2 separate regions of the Homo sapiens genome follow, and region 2 is linked to region 1. Evidence: promoter capture Hi-C in 16 types of primary human blood cells and fetal thymus (Javierre and others, 2016). All regions are on one chromosome and are shown on one strand. Each heading gives the region's core, a stretch centred on a gene start or on the middle of the fragment in contact. The rest is flanking DNA. Distances are from core to core; before and after follow the strand shown.

What was found. Contacts are between HindIII fragments. The CHiCAGO score rates a contact against its expected background, and 5 or more counts as called.
Region 2: a contact is called between a fragment that was not itself captured here and the fragment with the promoter of LMAN2L in region 1, in 17 of 17 cell types (M0 macrophages, M1 macrophages, monocytes and 14 more). The highest score is 15.7, in M0 macrophages.

What each region holds. Positions count from the first base shown.
Region 1 is chr2:96,737,804-96,744,003 of GRCh38, reverse strand. LMAN2L (lectin, mannose binding 2 like) reads left to right here and starts at 3,940. Exons shown (of 8, transcript NM_030805.4): 1 at 3,940-4,150; 2 at 5,937-6,055. The coding sequence starts at 3,964. RefSeq lists enhancers at 3,687-4,624, 4,625-5,564. The HindIII fragment of the contact is 9,784 bases long and covers 1-6,200 here.
Region 2 is chr2:96,626,996-96,633,195 of GRCh38, reverse strand. KANSL3 (KAT8 regulatory NSL complex subunit 3) reads left to right here. Exons shown (of 21, transcript NM_001115016.3): 3 at 1,714-1,884. Among named protein-coding and RNA genes, the nearest start is that of KANSL3, 8.2 kb to the left of the region's middle. The HindIII fragment of the contact is 1,114 bases long and covers 2,415-3,528 here.

The DNA of each region.
Region 1 (6,200 bases), core at 2,691-5,190:
CGAACTCCTGACCTCATGATCCACCCGCCTCAGCCTCCCAAAGTACTGGGATTACAGGTATGAGCCACCGGGCCTGGCTCTTCCTTTTCTTTGATACATTCCTCATTAATAAGCATTCTTCCTATTGCAACAGTCTGAACAAAATGATTTGATTTATAGTCCAGTGCATCTCACCTTTCACACCCTTCTCCTTTATTCCCCTTTTCCTCATCACACAGAATTTTACAATGAGATTTCTGCTTGTGTCAATCTATCAGAAATTCAGCTGACAGGGTGCATGACACTGCGAATGAATTTAATGCCTTTGAACTGAACACACATGGTCCTGACTTAATGATGGTTTGACTTAGGATTTTTAGACTTTAGGATGGGTTTAGTTTTTCTGTAGGTAACCCCATTGTAAGTTGAGGACCATCTGTACTTAAAAATTATACGCTGTATTTTATGTATTTTTTTTCTTTTTTTTTTTTGAGACAGAGTTTCACTCTTGTTGCCTAGGCTGGAGTGCAGTGGCGCGATCTTGGCTCACCGCAACCTCCACTTCCCAGGTTCAAGCGATTCTCCTGCCTCAGCCTCCCAACTAGCTGGGATTACAGGCATGCGCCACCACACCCGGCTAATTTTGTATTTTTAGTAGAGACGGGGTTTCTTCATGTTGGTCAGGCTGGTCTCGAACTCCCGACCTCAGATGAGCCACCCACCTCGGCCTCCCAAAGTGCTGGGATTACAGGTGTGAGCCACCGCGCCCGGCCTTTATGTGCATTTTACTACAATTAAAAATTCATCTTGCAGAGAAATGCAATGGAAATAATTTATTCAAAACAATTAGAACCCCTACTATGTGCTGGGTGATAGGTTGGGGTTGGGGAAATGGGTGGGGCCTGAGTTAGGAAATGAGTAAGACCTGCTTCCTGTGGTCCTGGAGCTCCCAGCCTTGCTGCGGAGACAAACCCATAATCTGTTAATTGAGCTCCATAATTCCAGGTGACACACATTACAGTACACATGCGTAGCGCCTGATTTCAGTCAGGATGCAAAGGGCTTTGAATGCTACACTAAGGACTTTGGATTTTGGTAATTGGGAGTTATGAATGGTTTTAAAGCCAGTGTATGACACGAACAGATTCATTGCAATTCCTAAAGTCTTAGCACCAGACATTTGACATTGTAGGGTGTCAAAGACTGATGGCAGTGACAGGCTGGGCACCATGGCTCACACCTGTAATCTCAGCACTTTGAGAGATGAGGTGGGAGGATCGCTTAAGGCCAGAAGTTCAAAACCAGCCTGGGCAACATAGAGACCCCCATCTTTAGAAAAAATTTTAAAAATTAGCTGAGGCTCACCCAGCAGTTTGAGACTGTAGTGAGCTATGATCACAGTACTGCACCCCAGCCTGATGGATTGAGACCCCATTTCTTCTTTTTTTTGTTTTTTTGAGACGGATCTGCTGCTCAGGCTGGAGTATGGTGGTGGGATCTTCTTGACTCACTGCAACCTCTACCTCCTGGGTTCAAGTGATTCTCCTGCCTCAGCCTTCCAAGTATCTGGGATTACAGGCACCTGCCACCACGCCCATTTAATTTTTGTATATATATGTATATATATATTTTTCGAGACGAAGTCTCACTGTGTTGCCCAGGCTGGAGTGCTGTGGTGCGGTCTCGGCTCACTGCAACCTCCGCCTTCTGGGTTCAAGTGATTCTCCTGCCTCAGCCTCCTGAGTAGCTGGGACTACAGGCGTGTGCCACCACGGCTGGCTAATTTTTTGTATTTTTAGTAGAGATGGGGTTTCACCATGTTGGCCAGGATGGTCTTGAACTCCTGACCTCAGGTGATCCGCCTGCCTCCCAAAGTGCTGGGATTACAGGCCTGAGCCACCGTGCCCAGCCAAGACCCCATCTCTTTAAAAAAAATAGCTGTGACAGCTTTAATTTTAAAAAGTTGATCCCCTGTAAAGTAGGCTCATAATTATGTTTATCTTATTAAATATATTCATGCTCAGGAAAGCAAGAGAGTGTTAACTTTGGTTAAGTCTATTGGGAAGACATAAACACAGATCTGTCAATTGCTCTATATGAGATGTGCATGGAACACTTTGAGAGCTCAGACAGGAGAATCTACCCTGCCTGAGAGGTTTGAGAAGGACCTCCAGAAGGAAGTGGACTGCAGAAAAAAAAAAGAGGGAAGGGAAGCTGGAGCATAAAGATGGAGGAAAAGAGTCATGGGCAATAAGGCCAGGGCCAGATGGCAGGGGGCTTTGTGTGCCAAATTGAGGGGCTTGAATCTCCTCCCCACAGGTGATGGTGAGCCATCAAAGGCCCGGTTAATAAGAATGATGATGATGAAATAGCGCTTATGGCTTGGTGCGGTGGCTTACACCTCTAATCCCAGCACTTTGGGAGGCTGAGGAGAGAGGATCACTGAAGTCTAGAAGTATGAGACAAATCTGGGCAACTTAGTGAGACCTCCCCCACAACCCCATAGCTACAAAAAATAAAAATTAGCAAGGTGAGGTGGCACACACCTGTAGTCCCAGCTACTTGAGAGGCTGAAGTGGGAAGATCCCTTGAGTCCAGGAGGTTGAGGCTGTGGTCATGCCACTGCACTCCAGCCTGGGTGACAGAGAGAGACCCTGTCTCAAAAACAAAAACAAAAACAAAAACAAAAAAAAAAAGAAAAGAAAAAAGAAAGAAATAGTGCTTACTACACGCAAGGCACTGTTCTAAGAGGTTTACCAATATTGACTCATTTAACCCTGACACTTACCATGGTTAGATAGTTTGGATCACTTTAGTGGCTACGTGGAGACCAGTCTGGACACATGTTGTGGTGCCGGATAAAGACGAAGGGATGTGCCTGTAGTCCCAGTAACTCAGGAGGCTAAGGTGGCAGGATCACTTCAGCCAGGGAGGGAGAGGCTGGAGCTGAGATTGTGCCACTGCACTCCAGCCTGGGCAACAGAGCAAGACCTTGTCTCTCTTTTTTTTTTTTTTTTTGAGATGGAGTTTTGCTCTATGTGGCCCAGGCTGGAGTGCAATGGCTTGGTCTCGGCTCACTGCAACCTCTGCCTCCCAGGTTCAAGCGATTCTCCTGCCTCAGCCTCCCAGTAGCTGGGATTACAGGCACGTGCCACCACGCCTGGCTAATTTTTTTTTTTATTTTTAATAGAGACGGGGTTTCTCCACCTTGGTCAGGCTGGTCTCGAACTCCCAACCTCAGGTGATCCGCCTGCCTCGGCCTCCCAAAGTGCTGGGATTACAGGCGTGAGCCACCGCGCCTGGCCAAGACCTCGTCTCAAACCAAAAAGAAAAAAAAGAGGAAGGGAGGAAAGGAGGTGATGGCTTTTAGAATTAATTAATTTGTGTGCTTTCAGTTCTTTTATATCTGTAGGTTGCTTGATGGCCCAGACTATCACGGCAAAGGAGTCATTTGCATTTGAAGAGAATGTGTCTTCCGCAGTTGTTAGGTGGAGTTTCTATAAATATCATCAGGTCAAGTTAGTTGGTAGTGCTGTTCAAGTCTTTTATAAATTGATAGTTTTCCAGCTATTTTACGGATTTGTCTATTTCTCCTTTCACTGCTATATCTTCCAAATTGATTCAGAGAGCTGCAGTCAGGAGCGTACTATTGCAGAGAGGATAGAATGTTTGGGACCAGAAGAAACGTTTTATCTCTTTAAATTTACTCTCGTACGCAGAAAACAAAATACAAATAAACTACGTATCCCAGCAAGCCTAGTGGAACTCAGGGCAAATGCAAATAAGGGGGGGGGCTGGGCATTCGGCTACGCCCCTTTTCTGGGTTGGCAAGGCAACTGATACAGAAGCCAGCCAATCGGTGATATAGTCACCTGCAGGGGCGGGGGCTTGACGAAAGCCAATAGGACGCAGGGCAGATGGCTCTTCGGGCCAATGGGTTGGGCGACGGGGCGGGCTTTTGATGAAGGGTCGTTGGTGGGAAAGATGGCGGCGACTCTGGGACCCCTTGGGTCGTGGCAGCAGTGGCGGCGATGTTTGTCGGCTCGGGATGGGTCCAGGATGTTACTCCTTCTTCTTTTGTTGGGGTCTGGGCAGGGGCCACAGCAAGTCGGGGCGGGTCAAACGTTCGAGTACTTGAAACGGGAGCACTCGCTGTCGAAGCCCTACCAGGGTGAGGCGCCCAGGGTGAGGTGGTCGTGCAGTGGGGCGGGCTTCGGGACTTGATTTCAGGGGTAGAGGCGGGGGCGGCGAAGGGCTTCGTGGCCCGGAGGAAACTGCTGGCGGTGGTGGGGCCCACGGAGACTCCCTCCGCGTTTGGGAGCCACAGGTCTGAAAGGCAGGAGTTAGGTGTGCCTGCCAAGCTCTGGAAGTTTCCAGTAGGTAAAGGCAGGGCTGTCGGGTGCCACTAGTACTAGGCCTGGAGTTAGACAGGAGGAGTTTGGGAAGGGGAGAGAATTGAGAATGGTGAGGAGTGATTGAGGGCTACTAGCAATGAGCCAGTCTCCAGATGGACCTGTGGATGTGCTAGAAATAAAGCAGGAGGAAGAACTGGGGTAGAACTTGAACGAAATGAGAAGATGATAAATTTATGTTGCTGGGTAGAACCACCTTCTCTTCTCCAGCCTAGGGGCCCTGTTGGTGAAAGAGGTTAGGGTTCACAGAACTCTAAGCACAGCTTATCAGCCAGAAAATTAATGCAGTTAGCCACAAAACGATGACAAACCAGTGCAGATGGCTTAACTAACACAAGTCTTTCCCCACTAAGGCGTAGGTAGTGGGACAGAAAACAATTCAAAGTGCAAGAGTATACTCTACTACTAAGGGTAATCATTTATTCACTTACATGCCTGGAGTGCCTCTGTGCTGTCTCTTTGCTAATGCTTATGGGTTTGCAGACACAAAGTTTTCATTCTTAAAGAAGTTTATAGGTGAGGGTACAGGGAGTAGCTTCACACTTTAAGGATTGTTTAAAGAAAGAATGTGACGGCTGGGGCGGTGGCTCACGCCTGTAATCTCCGCACTTTGGGAGGCCGAGGTGGGCGGATCACGAGGTCAGGAGATTGAGACCATCCTAGCTAACACGGTGAAACCCCATCTCTGCTGAAAATACAAAAAAATTAGCCAGGTGTGGTGGCGGGCGCCTGTAGTCCCAGCTACTCAGGAGGCTGAGGCAGGAGAATGGCGTGAACCCGGGAGGCAGAGCTTACAGTGAGCCGAGGTCATGCCACTGCACTTCAGCCTGGGCAACAGAGCGAGACTCCATCTCAAAGAAAAAAAAAAAAGGAAGAATGTGACTAAGCCCCGGAGGCCTGAGGGTCAAACTCTTTTTATTTATATTTATATATTTTTAGAGACAAGGTCTTGTTCCGTTGCCTAGGCTGGAGTGCAGTGGCACAATCATGGCTCATGCAGTTTCAATCTCCTGGGCTCAAGCGATGCTCCCAACTCAGCCTCCTGAGTAGCTAGGACTATGGACAAGGACTACCACACCTGGCTAATTTTTTTTTTGGTAAAGACAGGGTCTTTCTATGTTGCCCAGGCTGGTCTCAAATTGCTGACCTCAAGATGCCCTCCCTCCACATCATCTCAAAGTGTGGGGATTACATGGGTGAGCCACTGCACCTGGCCTGTCAAACTCTTTTTGATATAACTCAGGAAAATTTTTTTCTTTTACGATGCTGAAGTTTACTCACATATAAAACGGGAAGAATGGATGTGAGCTATGGTTACTGTAACATGCATAAAGTGAGAGTTCTGATGTGCTTTGGGGTCCTTACCTGATAAAGGCCTTGTGAAAGCTGTAGAGATGGTAAGATTCATGACTGAGAGAAGATAGGAGATTGAGTGACATTAAAGGGGGAAAAAGATGATGGCTCAGCTTTCAGAGGCTCTGTGGTGGCTGCTTTCTGAATGGATTGGTGTTGAAAAGTATGAACTGATCTACTTCCTTCCTGTAGGTGTGGGCACAGGCAGTTCCTCACTGTGGAATCTGATGGGCAATGCCATGGTGATGACCCAGTATATCCGCCTTACCCCAGATATGCAAAGTAAACAGGGTGCCTTGTGGAACCGGGTGGTAAGAATCTTTCTCCCTCCTGTGTTGGTGACCCAGAAAGGCCTAAAAAGTTCAGCAGTGGCATACTGATTTAATTTTACTGTCTATCCCCCTGGTATTCTATCTTCTGTGGATATCAAGGATCTTTATTTTTGAGATTATTCTG
Region 2 (6,200 bases), core at 1,722-4,221, 110 kb after region 1:
ACGTCCGCCTCCCAGGCTCAGTTGATCTCCCACCTCAGCCTCCCATGTAGCTGGGACCACAAGCTAATTTCTGTATTTTCAGTAGAGACGGGGTTTCACCATGTTGCCCACACTGTTGAACTTGTGGGCTCAAGTGTTCTGCCCACCTTGGCCTCCCAAAGTGCTGGGATTACAAGCCTGAGCCCTTGTGAGCCCTTGTGCCCAGTAATTTTTTTTTTTTTTTTTTTTTTGAGATGGAGTCTCGCTCTGTCTCCCAGTCTGGAGTGCAGTGGCGCAATCTCGGCTCACTGCAAGCTCCGCCTCCTGGGTTCACACCGTTCTCCTTCCTCAGTGTCCTGAGTAGCTGGGACTACAGATGCCTGCTACCATGGCTGGCTAAATTTTTGTATTTTTAGTAGAGACGGGGTTTCTCCATGTTAGCCAGGATAGTCTCGATCTGACCTCGTGATCCACCTGCCTCAATTTAAGTAGTCGTGTGTGGCTTATACCTACTGTATTGAACAGTATCTAGGCAATCAACTTGTTAGCCACTTTTCTCCATTTGTACTGTTCTTGTCCCTAAACGAGCTCTCATGATTTCTGGCCCATCTCAGTCAACTGCAGTGGCTGCCTAGCTGGTCTTCTAAATTCCACTCCTGAGCTGTAGCCTACTAAACAAAAATTGAAAGTGATCTTTTAAAAATATTAGCTTGAGCCAAATCAACTTGCTTATGGAATATATTGTCCTTTTTTTTGAGACTGGGTCTTGCCGTGTCACCCAGACTGGAGTGCAGTGGCATGATCAGAGCTGACTGTAGCCTCAACCTCCTGGGCTCAAGCAAGCCATCCTCCCACTTCAGTTTCTGGGACTGCAGGCGCATACCACCATGCCTGGCTAATTTTTGTGTTTGTTTTAGAGACGGGGTTTTGCCATATTGCCAAACTGGTCTTGAACTTCTGGGCTTAAACAATCCTCCTTCAGCCTTCCAAAGTACTGGGATTACAAGTATGAATCACTGTGCCTGGCTATATTTGTCATTTATTTATTTATTTTTTGAGACCAGCTCACTCCTGGGCTTAAGTGATCCTCCTGCTTCAGCCTCCCAAGTGCTGGGATTACAGGTGTGAATCACTGTGTCTGGCTGTATTTGTCATTTATTTATTTATTTTTGAGACCAGGTCTTGCTCTGTCACCCAGGCTGGAGTGCAGTGATGCAATCATGGCTCACTGCAGCCTTGACTTCCCGGGTTCCAGCAGTCCTCCCACCTTAGCCTCCTTAGTAGCTGGGATCACAGGTGTGTGCCACATGCCCAGCTAATTTTTGTATTTTTGGTAGAGACAGGGTTTCCTCATGTTGCCCAGGCTGGTCTTGAACTCCTGAGTTCAAGCAATCCACCTGCCTCGGCTTCCCAAAGTGGTGGTATTACAGGTGTGAGCCAGTGCACCTGGCCCATATTTATCTTAAAAAAAAAATAGATGTTTATCATTTTTTATATAGACTCATTGAAAAAATGACTTTGTGTTCTTCCAGTACATACCATCATGTCTGAGAGGGCAGAGATCTAGACAAGTGTGGGAAAGATGACTTTGGATCAAAATTTTCTTGTGAATATAATGTGCTTATGCGTAATTTAAAGCTGACTGTATTAAAGATACATTTTTTGTCAACCAGATGATTGTTAAATACCTGTGAAGTATGTGTGGCCCGGTCCTATTTCCTCACCTGTTTACAGTGAATCAGACGTCCCAATAGATGTGGAGACGGTCACATCAACGCCTATGCCACTCTATGACAATCAGAAGGCACGCAGCGTGATGAATGAGTGTGAACGGCATGTCATCTTTGCCAGGACTGATGCAGATGCCCCTCCTCCACCAGAGGACTGGGAGGAGCATGTCAACAGGTAGGCTGCTCATCAGGAGGATGATCACTGCCCTGTAATTATTTTGTATCATCTTCATTGAAATAACACTTATTAGGACCTTATTTCATTTGCAGCAACACAAGTCAGAGTGTTCTCCAAAGTCTCACATTATAACTCTCAGTTCACCATGCTGTGTGTGAGCTCCTTGAGAGTAGGGCTTACATCTCAGCCATCTTTGCATACTTCACACTAGGACGTTGTCTGGCACACAGTAGGCATATAATGTTTGTTGAATAAATAAGTGAATTAAATTTGATACATATGACTAGCTCTGTAGTAGCTTCTGTTGTATAAGTTATGATATAGGGGTTACCCAAACTGCAAAAAAATGAAATGTACATTTGTAAGATATTGTGTTTAAATGGTTTATAACTAGGATGATGGAAGTTGTGAAGTCACATGAAAAGCTAACAGATGTTTGAGTGGCTTTTAAAAATAGATTTGCAGGCTATGGAGGGCACACTGAAGCCTATTTTCACGAGTATACTGGCTAGTTTTGTTCCCAAGCTTTCTACTGCCCCCAGGGGACTCAGCACTCCTCTCCTGGTTATTTGTCCCTGTTCATTTGGTAAACATTTACCTAATTACATAACAGCTTTTTGGGGATATTATTTACATACCATACAATTCAGCTATTTAATATGTACAGTCATTGGTTTTTAGTATAGTCAGAGTTGTATATTCATCACCACTATCAATTTGATAAACATTTTCATCATCCTAAAAAGAAACCTCTTACCCATAAACAGTTACTTCCCGTTTCCTCCCAGCTTCTCTGGTCCCTAGGAAGCACTAATTGACTTTTGTCTTTATAGATTTGCCTATTCTGGACATTTCATATAAATGGAATCATGCAATATGTGGTCTTTTCCTACTGGCTTCTTTCACCCAGCATGATGTTTTCAAGGTTTATCCATGTGGTTGCGTGTATCAGCACTTCATGCTTTTTATTGCCAAATGACATTACATTGTATGGATAGCCCACATTTTATTTATTCATTAATCAGTTGATAGATATTTAGATTGTTTTCATTTTTTGGCAATTGTGAATAATGCTATTATGAACATTTGCATACAAGTTTTTGTGTGGATCTAAGTTTTTAATTCTCTTAGTTATATACCTGGGAGTGGACTTGTTGGGTCATATGATAACTCTGTATTTAACCTTTGAGGAATTGCCAGACTGTTTTCCAAAGTGGCTGTACCATTTTACATTCCTACCAGCAGTGTATGAGAGTTCTAGTTTCTCCATATCCTTGCCAACACTTACTGATTTTCTTCTTTTTTAAAAAAATTATAACCATTCTACTGCGTGTAAAGTGGCATCTCATTGTGGTTTCAACTTATATTTTGTTGATGGCTTTTTGTCTGTGTATCCATATATCTACTATATATATAAGGAAATGTTACTTCTTATATCAGGAGTTGGTAGGTGGTAACTTTCCATAATTTTGGAGAACCCTTATTTTATAATAGAGAGAAAGAGGGGTAGAAAGTTTGAGGTGATTGACATGACTTCTGAAGCTGGTTGGAAGTTGGGAATGAGATTGAACAGGTGTGCTTGTGTGATCAAAACAGCAGCTGTTGAGGGAGGAGCAGTTCTGCACCTTGGTTGAAAAAGCTTGTGAAGAAGTTGGTTGGGGTCTTGCATTGGAATTAATTTAGTGCCTTAAGAAGCTCTTTTCTCACGCCTGTAATCCCAGTACTTTGGGAGGTTGAGGCGGGTGGATCACCTGAGGTCGGGAGTTCAAGACCAGCCTGACCAACATGGAGAAACTCTGTCTCTGCTAAAAATACAAAATTAGCTGGGTGTGGTGGCGCATGCCTGTAATCCCAGCTACTCGGGAGGCTGAGGCAGGAGAATCACTTGAACCTGGGAGGCGGAGGTTGTGGTGAGCCGAGATCGTGCCATTGCACTCCAGTCTGGGCACCAAGAGTGAAACACCATCTCAAAAAAAGAAAAAAAAGCTCTTTTGAGCTTCAGATAAAGAAGAAAACTGCTACGAATGAAGATCAACTACTGGAATATTGCTAGAGTCAGTATATTCAGCAAAAGGATTTATCACTATTTTTACAGTTAATAATAAAAAATAACGACGATGGTAATAACAAAAAGGAGCTACCGTTTGTTGAGTGCTTTCTAGGTGCCAGACATTGTATCAATGTCTCTTCAAATGCATTGTCTCTTAATCCTCCCAATGACTCTTGGAGGTATATCCCCCCTTCATCTCTGCTCAACAGGATGAAGAAACTGAGCTCAGGGTGTTTAAGAAACCTTAATTAGGAAGTGATGGAGAAGGATTTTGTTCAAACCAAGCAGCCTGACTCCAGAACCCAGTGTTCTCAACTACCATACCCTCTGCCTTAATTAAGGGCAGTAAGAAGAGATTAAGACCAGTTAGTGGTGGCTGAACAAGGTGGCCTGGTATGGTTATGTATCCCTTTGTGGTATTTTCTACTACCTTGTCCTTTGCAATTTCAGAAAGTACATAGGAGAACTGTGTGATTTTTTTTTTTTTTGTCAGTTTATCCATGGTTATGATTAAGAGGTTTTTGTGGACAATTCATACTTATCAAAGTCATTAGAGACTTAATAATACTATAAATACCAGTTTGTTTCTTTTTTCTTTTTTTTGAGACAGGGTCTCACTCTGTCACCCAGACTGCAGTGCAGTGGCACGATCTCAGCTCACTACAAGCCTTGACCTCCAGGACTCAGGTGATTCTCCCGGGTGGGAACCTTAACCTCCCAAGTAGCTGGGACTACAGGAGTACGTCACCATTTCTTAATTTTTGTAGTTTTTGTAGAGATTGGGTTTCACCATGTTGCCTAGGCTGGTCTCAAACTCCTGGCTCAAGTGGTCTGCCCACCTTTGCCTCCCAAAGTGCTAGGATTATAGGTGTGAGCCACTGCACTTGGCTGAGTTTCTTAATTTATAAGGAGAGATATAACTGCAAAGCATAAGAGACACTGGGGTGGCCTGGCCAGAGTGTCTGTTCTCAGCAGGAAAGTCTGGAAAACCATTTTATTTCAGAAGTGAATAGATGAGTGGAGAGTCTACACAGGAGGCACAGCAGAATAGCTGGATGTACACATCTTTCCTCTAGGCAAGATGAGTCCACGGAATAGGCCAGTGTGCACCTTCTCCTGCCTGTCCTTTAGAGAAACACTGACAGATTCTTGTCTTTGGCTTATCTTTCTCCAGTCTCCTTGTGGACCACCACCCTTCTGTTATGACATTGCCACATTGCCACAGATTGATGTAATCCATTAAAGCTCAATTTATCAGATTATTTGTTTTCTTAGTGTCTGATGAGATTTTGGAGGCCTTCTCTCATTGGCAGCAGGCTTACACACCATCTCTTTTGGTAGGTAACTTTTGTACATAGCCGATTTTATTATTTATGATAACTTATTAGTTTCAGTTTCAGATACCACCATTTTATGACCCTGTCCCTGAATCTGTAGCCTGTTTGGAGCTTGCAGTTCCTTCTGCTCTGATTATAATCATCGTGTTGCCATTCTTTCCCTGACTTGATTGTTAAATTGCTGCTTCCTTTCTTCTTATATAAAGTCATGTAAAATTAGTTTGCCACATCAAGAGCTCCATGAACGGTGTAGGTCGGCTCCCTAGAACTCTGGAGTTCTTTCCCGGAGAGTTTACTGATTGCTCTTTGTCTGTGGAGGCAGAAACTTAATTTCCTTGTTAAGAGCTTTTTTCCTCTCTCTTGAATGATTTCAGTAGAAACTGTCTTCAGATAGCTTTGTGTATATAGGCTAGGCGCAGTAGCTCTCGCCTGTAATCCCAGCACTTTGGGAGGCTGAGGCGGGAAGATAATTTGAGGTGAGGAGTTTGAGACCAGCCTGACCAACATAGTGAAACCCCGTCTCTACTAAAAATAGTAAAAATTAGCTGGTGTGGTGGCAAACGCCTGTAATCTCAGCTACTCGGGAGGCTGAGGCAGGAGAATCTCTTGAACCTGGAAGGCAGAGGTTGCAGTGAGCCGAGATCGTGCCACTGCACTCCAGCCCGGGCAACAGAGCAAGACTCCGTCTCAAAAAAAAAAAAGAAGCATGTTCCTCCCTTCCCTGCCCCTGACTCTGGCTTTCTTTATTAATGGCTGATATTTTGTGAAATGGTTTAAATATTACTACCTTATTTAATTGTCTGCATTAGTGGTTGTCTAACTATGACAGTGGGCTGATTTAAATTTGGCCCATTGCTTGTTTTTGTGTGGAATGATTTTTACATTTTTAAATAGTTGCAAAAAAATTAATACTGTTTCATGACACA